Linked DNA regions of Homo sapiens: all the other regions are linked to region 3. Evidence: promoter capture Hi-C in human tissues and cell types (Jung and others, 2019). All regions are on one chromosome and are shown on one strand. The core of a region is centred on a gene start or on the middle of the fragment in contact, and the rest is flanking DNA. Distances in the headings are between cores, read along the strand shown.

Evidence for each region. The method cuts DNA at HindIII sites, captures the fragments that hold promoters and counts their contacts. A contact is called where the count stands out against the background at its distance.
Region 1: a fragment that was not itself captured here is called in contact with the fragment with the promoter of REG4 in region 3 in 1 of the 25 tissues and cell types used here (adrenal gland).
Region 2: a fragment that was not itself captured here is called in contact with the fragment with the promoter of REG4 in region 3 in 1 of the 25 tissues and cell types used here (liver).

What each region holds. Positions count from the first base shown.
Region 1 is chr1:119,676,354-119,679,365 of GRCh38, forward strand. No RefSeq gene overlaps it. Among named protein-coding and RNA genes, the nearest start is that of ZNF697, 30 kb to the left of the region's middle. RefSeq lists an enhancer at 2,882-3,012. The HindIII fragment of the contact is 5,689 bases long and covers 1-3,012 here.
Region 2 is chr1:119,603,229-119,606,334 of GRCh38, forward strand. It overlaps the pseudogene HSD3BP5. Among named protein-coding and RNA genes, the nearest start is that of LINC00622, 5.5 kb to the left of the region's middle. RefSeq lists an enhancer at 1,485-2,684. The HindIII fragment of the contact is 3,391 bases long and covers 1-3,029 here.
Region 3 is chr1:119,810,099-119,813,103 of GRCh38, forward strand. REG4 (regenerating family member 4) reads right to left here and starts at 1,362. Exons shown (of 6, transcript NM_032044.4): 1 at 1,311-1,362. The HindIII fragment of the contact is 6,627 bases long and covers 1-3,005 here.

The sequences.
Region 1 (3,012 bases), core at 272-2,771, 130 kb before region 3:
CTCGCTCTGTCACTCAGGCTGCAGTGCAGTGATGCGATCTCGGCTCACTGCAAGCTCCACCTCCCGAGTTCACACCATTCTCCTGCCTCAGCCTCCCGAGTAGCTGGGACTACAGGCGCCCGCCACCACGCCCGGCTAATTTTTTATATTTTTAGTAGAGACGGGGTTTCACTGTGTTAGCTAGGATGGTCTTGATCTCCTGACCTTGTGATCCGCCCGCCTCGGCCTCCCAGAGTGCTGGGATTACAGGCGTGAGCCACTGCGCCCGGCCTCTTTCCTGTCTTTCAGCTCTGCTCCTCTCAATTCCCCAATAACACAATCCCTAGTCTCCTAAGAGTGGGCCCCAGGATAGTCTGCAAACTCATCACCTTCTAAGGGGGACTGCTGTCACTGAGTGGTCCCAAGTGGGCACTAGAGGCCAGTGTTGCAATGTTTTCAGTCTTTTCAAAAGAAATAGAAATCTTTATTATCTTGTGAAATCCCTTAGTTTGGAGCCAATATTGGCTCCAATTACTTTTGAAACACTCCATGGGCCAAAAAGCACTTGTGTTTATGGCCAACAATTAGTAACCCATCAAAGAGGCTCTCTGGACTGAGTGTAGTGGCTAATGCCTGTAATCCCAGCACCTTGGGAGGCCAAAGTAGGAGGATCACTTGAGCCCAGGACTTGGAGACCAGCCTGAGCAACATAGCAAGACCCCGTCTCTACAAAATTTAAAAAATTAGCTGAGTGTAGTGGCGTGGGTCTGCGGTCCCAGCTACTTGGGAGGCTGAAGTGAGAGGATTGCTTAACCCAGAAGGTTGGGGCTTCAATGAGCCATATTCTTGGCACTGCACTCCAGTGTAAGTGATAGAATGAGACTCTGTCTCAAGAATAAAAAAATTAAAAAATTAAAAAAAGAAGATTTCTAAGCTTCTTCCCAACGTTTCTGACACACTGTGACTCTAACCTCTGCCCACATTTCTACATGGCTAATTTTTAAATAAGGTCAACTGCTGATCCTAGGTCAGCAAGAACCACAAGGTCAGGAGTGTTCTTTCTTCGAAGTTTCAGGTTAATCAGTTTCTGTTTAGGAAAAAGAACAAGACTTCTCTTTAGGTAAGGTATCTACCAGAGCAGCCCCCACTCCCACCCGAAAGTCACCTGAATACAGCTATTTCCTGTGCCTCTTTCTGCTACAAATCTCTGCAGCATGTTTTGTTTTATGCATCAAAACTAGATCGACCTCTGCATTCTGATCATTCCCCCACGGTGTTGTCTTTTTCCAAACTTTCTGTTTTCATTAACTTAAAGTCTATGATGCTATCAAACTGATTAAGCTCATTCCAACCAAGCACCACATGCTGAAGCTAGTGAATCACATTGCCAGTTGGGCTTTAAAAAGAACAGGTTTGAATGTACATCCTAATGTATTATATACTATATTGTGAATATGGATTGTGTTGAAGCTATAATTATGAGGGATTTAATACATTGGGGTCTACATTCAACCCCGATGTACACATACTTATATATATGTAAAATGTTTAGCCCATTAACTTTGCCTTGCTGACAGTTGTGGGAAAGTTTCTAGAGTTGTCAGTCACAAGGTCTTGTGAGAATCTGATCTAAGCAACTCAGCCTTCCCTCAAGAAAAAAGCACTCATAAGCAAACAATTTCCCAAAGTCTGTGCATAGACCCTTAGGCATACCTGAACCCCAGGTAAGAACTCCTGCTGTATCAGTGAGGGGCAAGGCAACTGCTCAGAGCCTGTAGGTCTCATTTAATTTGAAGGTGGCTGGTTGACCCTAAGCTCTTTCTCAGTACATCACGCCTTCCAGTAGAACTGAACCAAAACTCTAAGACACCCTGTTTATGCTCCCTTGGGAATTTAGGGCCCTTACCATGTATAGCTTCTCTGGGGTGGTTTCTGATGCTCATCAATTCTCTGACATCAACTGGGTATGTTACCAGTGGAAGATATCCTGGTTATCGGTGGCAAATTCATATGTGTCTGCAGCAACCTCAATTCTTGCCTCCTCAGAAGAAAGAATTCAACTGAGGGGCATAAGGCAGAAAAAAGACTGAGGCAAGTTTCATTGTAGGAGTGGAAGTTTATTAAAAAGCTTTAGAGCAGGAAAGGAAAGTGCTTTCGGAAGGGACGCAAGTGGGCACTGAGAAGGTCAAGTGCCTGGTTTAACCATCATCCTAGGACTTTATAGGCTGGCAAACTCTGGCGTCTTGCGCCCCCTTTCCATGATTCTTCCCTTAGGGTGTGTTGCCTGCATGCACAGTGCCCTCCTTACCCTTGGGAATTGAGCACATGCAGTGTGTTTAGGAAGTTGTATGCATGCCCATCTGAGACTTTCTTCCCTTTTCTGGTGGAGTGCCACCAGAAGGTCATACTCCACCATTTTGTCTCTTAATGCGCAGGCCTGGGAAATTGCCTCTCTGGTGTCTGCTGTCAATCAACACTTCAGTGCAATGGGTATGGACCATCAAGAAATGGCCTCTCTCTGGAGGCTGGCTGCCAATTTATCGCTTTTAGAGAGGCAACGTGATAATCATCAAACCGTCACCTGCCATTCCTGGTGGGTGGGGGAGAGCCCTCTCCTGCCCCACTCACGCCTAACTACCTGTAACAGGTATCAAAAATTCAATTATGACACTATCTGGAGTTAGTGCAGACACAGATTAAGGGCTCAGTCCTATAAGACTGCACTGACTTCAAATGTCAGTCTCATCTGGGCCAGGCCACCCATGCTTCTGACCTACCAGCTATAAATCAAGGATTCCCAAGATCCCCTCCTCAAGTTCAATAATTTGATATAAGAGCTCACAGAACTCAGAAAAACAGTTTACTTACATTTACTGACTTATTATAAAGGATACAACTCAGGAACAGCCAAATGGAAGAGACGCAGAGGGCAAGGTATGGGGGAGTAGGGTGAGGGTGGCACAGAGCTTCAATGGCCTCTCTGGGTGTGTCACCTCCCAGCACCCAGTAGCTCTCTGAATCTATTGTTCAAGA
Region 2 (3,106 bases), core at 84-2,583, 210 kb before region 3:
TCTAGATCCCTGTGAACTCATTAAGGAAAAGCCTTTTCTCTTGGCTTTAGACTTCTTCAGCTTTGAAATGGCAATTCCTTTGAGCCAGTCTGTCTGAAGTTGGCAGCAAAGGGGAAGCAGAGGAAGGGAGCAGGAAGTGCAGAGGTGGAAATACAACCAGAGAAAATTCCACTCTCAGGCTGTCACCCATGTCCTCCCCAGCAGCCTCTTCCCTGCCTCCCCCATAGCATGGCCTTCTTGGAGTTGCCTGGCAATAGGAAGGGGCTGGGAGTAGACAAAACATGGCAGAGGCATTAGGAGAGGAAGTGGTCCCGCCTGTATCCCAGGAAGGAATTGCTCCGGTCTTGAATTTTTCGCTCTGAATTTTACTCTCACTGTTCTTTGGCCTTTGTTGCCAATTTCAGTTGAACTGGCTTATTCTTACTCTTTCTCAGAAAAGTTTATTCTAAACAGCCAGTCCTGTACCTGGTGTGCAGGGTACGAGGCTTGGAGGTGGAGTGGGCAAGTTTGAGCCTCTACTAGAAACGCGACCTTTGATCTGTCCCTTAACCTCTCTGAACCTCAGTTTCCTCACCAGTAAAGTGGGACTCAGAAAACCTATCTCATGAGATTGCTGTAAAAGGAAATAAGCAAGCTGTGAGTCATATGCAGATTATAAAGCACAAACAAGTGTAGTGTATTTATCCAAGCTTCATGTACCACAGTGTTCATTGCGTGGGCTAATTCCAGGTGACAACTTTACTGGCAGCATCACTTCTTGTGGATTTCAGAGGAGCGTGAAGACATTAAAGTTTTAACCACTGCCCTCAGCTAGACAGCTGGAATATCAGTTCATTGGTCGCTAACTTTCAGCATTGCTATCTGCTTTTCAAATCTGATGAGTTTTTCATGGAAATTCCTCATTTAAGCCCATCAGCAATTCCCTAGTAATGGCTCCACTCTCCTCCCAATTGCCCAAGGAGGAAACCATAGGGGTGATTTTGTCTTCTTTTTCTCTCAGCCCAGATCCAGTAGGTATCAGGACCTTCAAGGTAAGGTCTGAAATTCAAACCTGTTTTATCTCTCCCCTGCTCTGCTTCCACTGCTGGACCCTGCTTCCAGTCCTCATCGAAACTTTGGCACAGATACTCTGATTAATATCTTAATTACCTTACTTTCTCATATCCCCTATACCAGTCCATTTTATATCCTCAAGCCAATGTTGACTTCCTACATTACAATTCTGCTTCTGTTTCTCTGTCTCTCTTTTTTTATTAACAGGGTTTGGCTGTGCCACCAAGGCTGGAGTGCAGAGGTATGATCTCTGCTCACTGCCACCTTCACCTCCTGGGCCCCATTCATCCTCCTGCTTCAGCCTCCCGAACAGCTGGGACTATGGGCAAGCACCACTACGCCTGGCTAATTTTTGTGTTTTTAGTAGAGACGGGGTTTCACGAGGCTGTCCAGGCTGGTCTTGACCTCCTGGGTGCAAGCAATCTGCCCACCTCAGCCTCCCAAAGTGCTGGAATTACAGGTGTCAGCCACCATGCTCTGCCTGTTTCTCTACTTATTCCAAATATAAATAAGGGATTTTCTTTGACATGGTGCTGGAGACCCAAAATCATGATCCCGCATCACCAGCAGAATTAAATTCAAATTTTCCCTCTTATACCCAACTCTCCACAGTCACCTTACTCTCTTTAAATATTTTAGTGAGTCTCCCATGACTCTAGAAATGCTTATATTCCAAGCACACCTGACAGCTCATTGCTCAGATTACTTTTCTTAAATGAGATGGGGTAGAAACAGATGTTTGCTCTTTCCCAATAAATTGCTACATATTCTGACTTCTGTGTCCCTGTTTACTTGTTCCTTCCATGGAATGTACACCCTCCACTCCAACACCCTGACTCTAGCCATCCTCGAACATCTATGTAACAACATCTTTATCAGTTTCAGAAATCGTTTCAGAAATCGTTCTGATAACCTGACCGGTGTTCACACAGAGCTCCAGAACAAGACCAAGCTGACGGTGCTGGAAGGAGACATTCTGGATGAGTCATGCCTGAAGAGAGCCTGCCAGGACATGTCGGTCATCATCCACACCACCTCCATCATAGACATCATCGGTGTCACTCACAGAGAGTCCATCATGAACATCAATGTGAAACGTACAGTAGCCTGGGGAGGAGATGAAGCAAGGTGGGGAATTAAGGATCACAAAGAAGGACAGGAAGGGAAAAGAAGTCTCTCCACTGAACACCTGCTATGCTCTGGACCAAGTGTCTTTGCTGATCACTACCAACTGGGGGAGTTCAAAGCTGCTATCTTCAGTTTTTTACATGAGGAAACCAGTGCTACAGATGGCAAGTAACTTGTCCAAGGCCCCCCCAGGTAAGTAAGTAAATAGGAGAGTTAGACTTTAAACTCACCCCTGTGTGACTCCAAAGGCTGTGGACACTCTTTCTATAGTGGCTTCAATCAAAAGTCAACTAAATTCCAACTTCAGACTCTTGATATCCCTCTATGGGACAGAATCAAACCTTCCAGGTGCCACCATAGTCATCATTGTGCTACACACAAGTCACCTTGTGCGTAGGCTTATGATAATGAAATGGGAAAAATTCCCTCATCCCCCTCACCAGGCATGCAATGAGGGTGTGGCTTGCTTCTTCAATGCCTCACTGCTCAAACCTCTGTGGGAGCATAGAGACAGGCAGGCTGTGGGACTCCGACACCATAGCAGTGTCTGGGGTGAATGTTTACAGCTCCTGAAGCCTCAGTGGGTGTGTGTTACATGGTGCTCTTTTAGTCTTGCTCTTTTAGTTTTGACATCTACAGGCGGCTTGTTTTAACCAGCTAAATTAGACCCTCTACCTTGTCGGAAGGTCAGAGGGCTTTCTGTATCCTGGGTTCTTGTTTTGGTTACCAGAGAAATTAGATCACACCTGGGCTTGGAGAATGAGTGCCAGGTTTTGTTGAGTGAAGGTAGCTCTCAGCAGCTGGGGGATGCCAGAAGGGGAGGGTTTTCCCATGGAGTTGGCCGTTCAACTGCCCAACTCTTCTCCGACCATCCCAGGGAAACTCCACATCATTCTGCTGGGCGGTGTGTTCCTCCCAACGTCCA
Region 3 (3,005 bases), core at 112-2,611:
TTTCTCTTACTTATTATAATTTTTGCCATTCTGAAATTTTCAAAAATATTGTTATTTTTTATGTTTTTAAAAATAATTTTTAAATTTATATCAAAAGACTGGCCATTACTGTCACATAAGGTTAAAATATTTATCACTGTTCTATTTTCATCTGTCTGGGCTTTGTTTTAACATAAGTATGAAACTGAGTTCTGGATTTCCCTCCCAAATAATTCTTAAAATGAGTTAATTCATTGAATTCACATTTAATCATACTTTATGATTAAAAAATCTGAATATACAATCTAACTCTCAAATAATGGATTGCTTAAAGAGAATAATGTAAATGATGACTTTTCTGGAAAATCAATTCTGGGGTCCATCTGAACACTTTAAGGCAACATTAACTGAGAATGAGACAAAGCTTGGAGAGTGTGGATGTGACCTTCCCCACCCCTTACTTCTTTTTAAATCATTGCGTGAACCTTGCACTTTGCTAAACTTTCCTTCCAAAAGTAATAGTGTATTTTCAATGTCCTCAAACCCCTTTAAAACGCAAACAGAATTTCTCTGTCAAGGTGACCATCTGGGGGAAGGGAGAGGCAGCATCTTTTTTACTAATCTGTGAATAATTTTTAGTGAACTGATATTCATTGAATGTCTGCATGTCATGTTCATAAGTAAGCTGCACTGGGCCGGGTGTGGTGGCTCATGGCTGAAATCCCAGCACTTTGAGAGGCTGAGGCAGGTGGATCACCTGAGGTCAGGAGTTCAAGACCAGCCTGGCCAACATGGCACAACCCTGTCTCTATTAAAAAATACAAAAATTAGCTGGGCGTGGTGGCAAGTGCCTGTAATCACAGCTACTCAGGAGGCTGAGGCAGGAGAATCACTTGAACCTGGGAGGCAGAAGTTGCAGTGAGCCAAGATTGCACCATTGCTCTCCAGCCTGGGAGACAGAGCAAGACTCCATAAAAAAACAAAAACAAAAACAAAAACAGAAACAAAAACAAAAAACCTGCACTGTAGATCTCATGAATGCATGTTACAAATGAAGACACTGACACTTATGATTGAGTAACTTTTCTAAAGTTTCCCAGCTACCAGACTGCAGAGCCAAGATTTAACCCAACAGCTTGACACCAAAGCCAATGCTCTTTGCAGTGAAGGAAGAAAAGAAGGTAAATAATTTAAATCAAACAACACAGCAACAGAAAGCCTGACAAGCCTCACTAGAAATACAATTTGTCATTTCTGGCCTGGCTAATAGCTGACAGAGGAAAACAGATGTTTAAAGAAAGTCCCCCATCATCAACCGCGAGGAGGATTACCTGTTTGGCAACCAAGACTCTAAGGGCCCCTGCCTTCTTCAGTGTCTCCAGTGGTCCCAGTCAACGTTTCTGGAGCTTTTATATCTTCTTGCCTCAGGAATTAATAATCTTTACTTTAGTCACAAAGCGATAATATTATTTGAGAAAAACAATCCATCCATAAAAGTCTTATCTACAGTGAAAAAAATGAATCATATAAGAGACGGCTTCAGAATGTACGTAAGGTGTGCTTTGACTAGCCAGGAAAAGAACCTCTCCCTGTGTGCAAACAGAATCTTTTCTTCACATCACGTTATTAAAACTGACAACATCCTGTAATCTGTTATAAGCCCATCTTCCTCTCCCCTTATGTTACTTTTTCATGGCTGTCTTTTTATGCCTTGGTATGGTGGATTTCCTTTATTTCTCTTTTATTTCTAGAAGGATTTTCTGTCAGGGTCAGGAATAGGTTATGACCCATGCGGTGAGACTTGAGACCCACACACAGATTTTCCTTCCTAAAGCACCGACTCCACTCCTTCAACATGCGTGAGTTTCCTCAGAGATCTACTATTTGAGCTTCTCCCGCAGAACATGGATGATCATGTCAAAATAGCTTACATCAACAGAGTGTGTTACAATAACGGGTTTTCAGTGAAGTCATCAAATAAGATGCCAACAAAATCCTTGTGAGCAGCATAGGACACATATCCCCATTACACACTCAAGAAACCCAACCTTAAGAGAGATTAGAAACCTTCCGAGGTTCACAACACTGGTCAGCAGTGGACCTGGACACTGAACCTTGTCCTTCTGACTCCAAATATAGGTGTTTGCCAAAATACAGTTCTACTGAAAAATAGGCTATTTGAAAAGAGTAACAAGATTTTCTTTTCCAGTATAGATGGCAAAGGGTTAGGTTGTAGGTGCCAGAGATGACTCAACTTTAAACTACAGATTTAAGTCTGTAAAGGACCTTTATGTCTGGAAACTTTAAGTCTGGAAGGGACCATAGTAGTTATCAAATCTTACTCTTTTGTTCTACTGGTGAGGAAATTGAGGCCTAGAGAAACATTGTGACTAGTTTAATGCACAGACAGTTGTGGGTGAAGCTGATATCAGAAGCCAGCTTCCTTGCTCCCAGCTCACTGTTGTTTGGAAAATGCTACTCAACCTTTGTTATTAGATTTTTGCATCAGTTGTGTAAATTCATGGTAGGACATGAGAAAGTAATGCTTTCATGGTTCACAAAGAACATTTTAAAGAATCTCTCCCATCAGAATGTTTGACACAAACCTCTTTCTCTTTAGGCAGCTGGATGGGAATCATCATTGCTTCATGGCACAATGGCGTACAAAGATGTTAACTCCAAGCCTTTCAATTTCAGAAGTCCTGGTCCAGATGTAAGACAGAAAAGTTTTAACAAAATGGGTGATTAGATAGATCTCCTGTGTTTCCAGCAGCCATCCCAACCCTTAGTCTGCTATCCCCATGCCATTATCCAGATTTAAAGACTTGAGATGAGAGAGAAGAGAGTAGAACAGATTAGAAAACAAGATGTTCATAGGACTTTTAAGAGGTCTCTTACTGAACCCTCACATTGACTAGCTCCAAATTAAGGCATTGATAGGACTCACATAAACCTTTGAGATGTAAGAATGTAAAGGACCAGAAAATTGTCTGAATCAAAAAGGTCCACTGAATAGTAAGTTTATT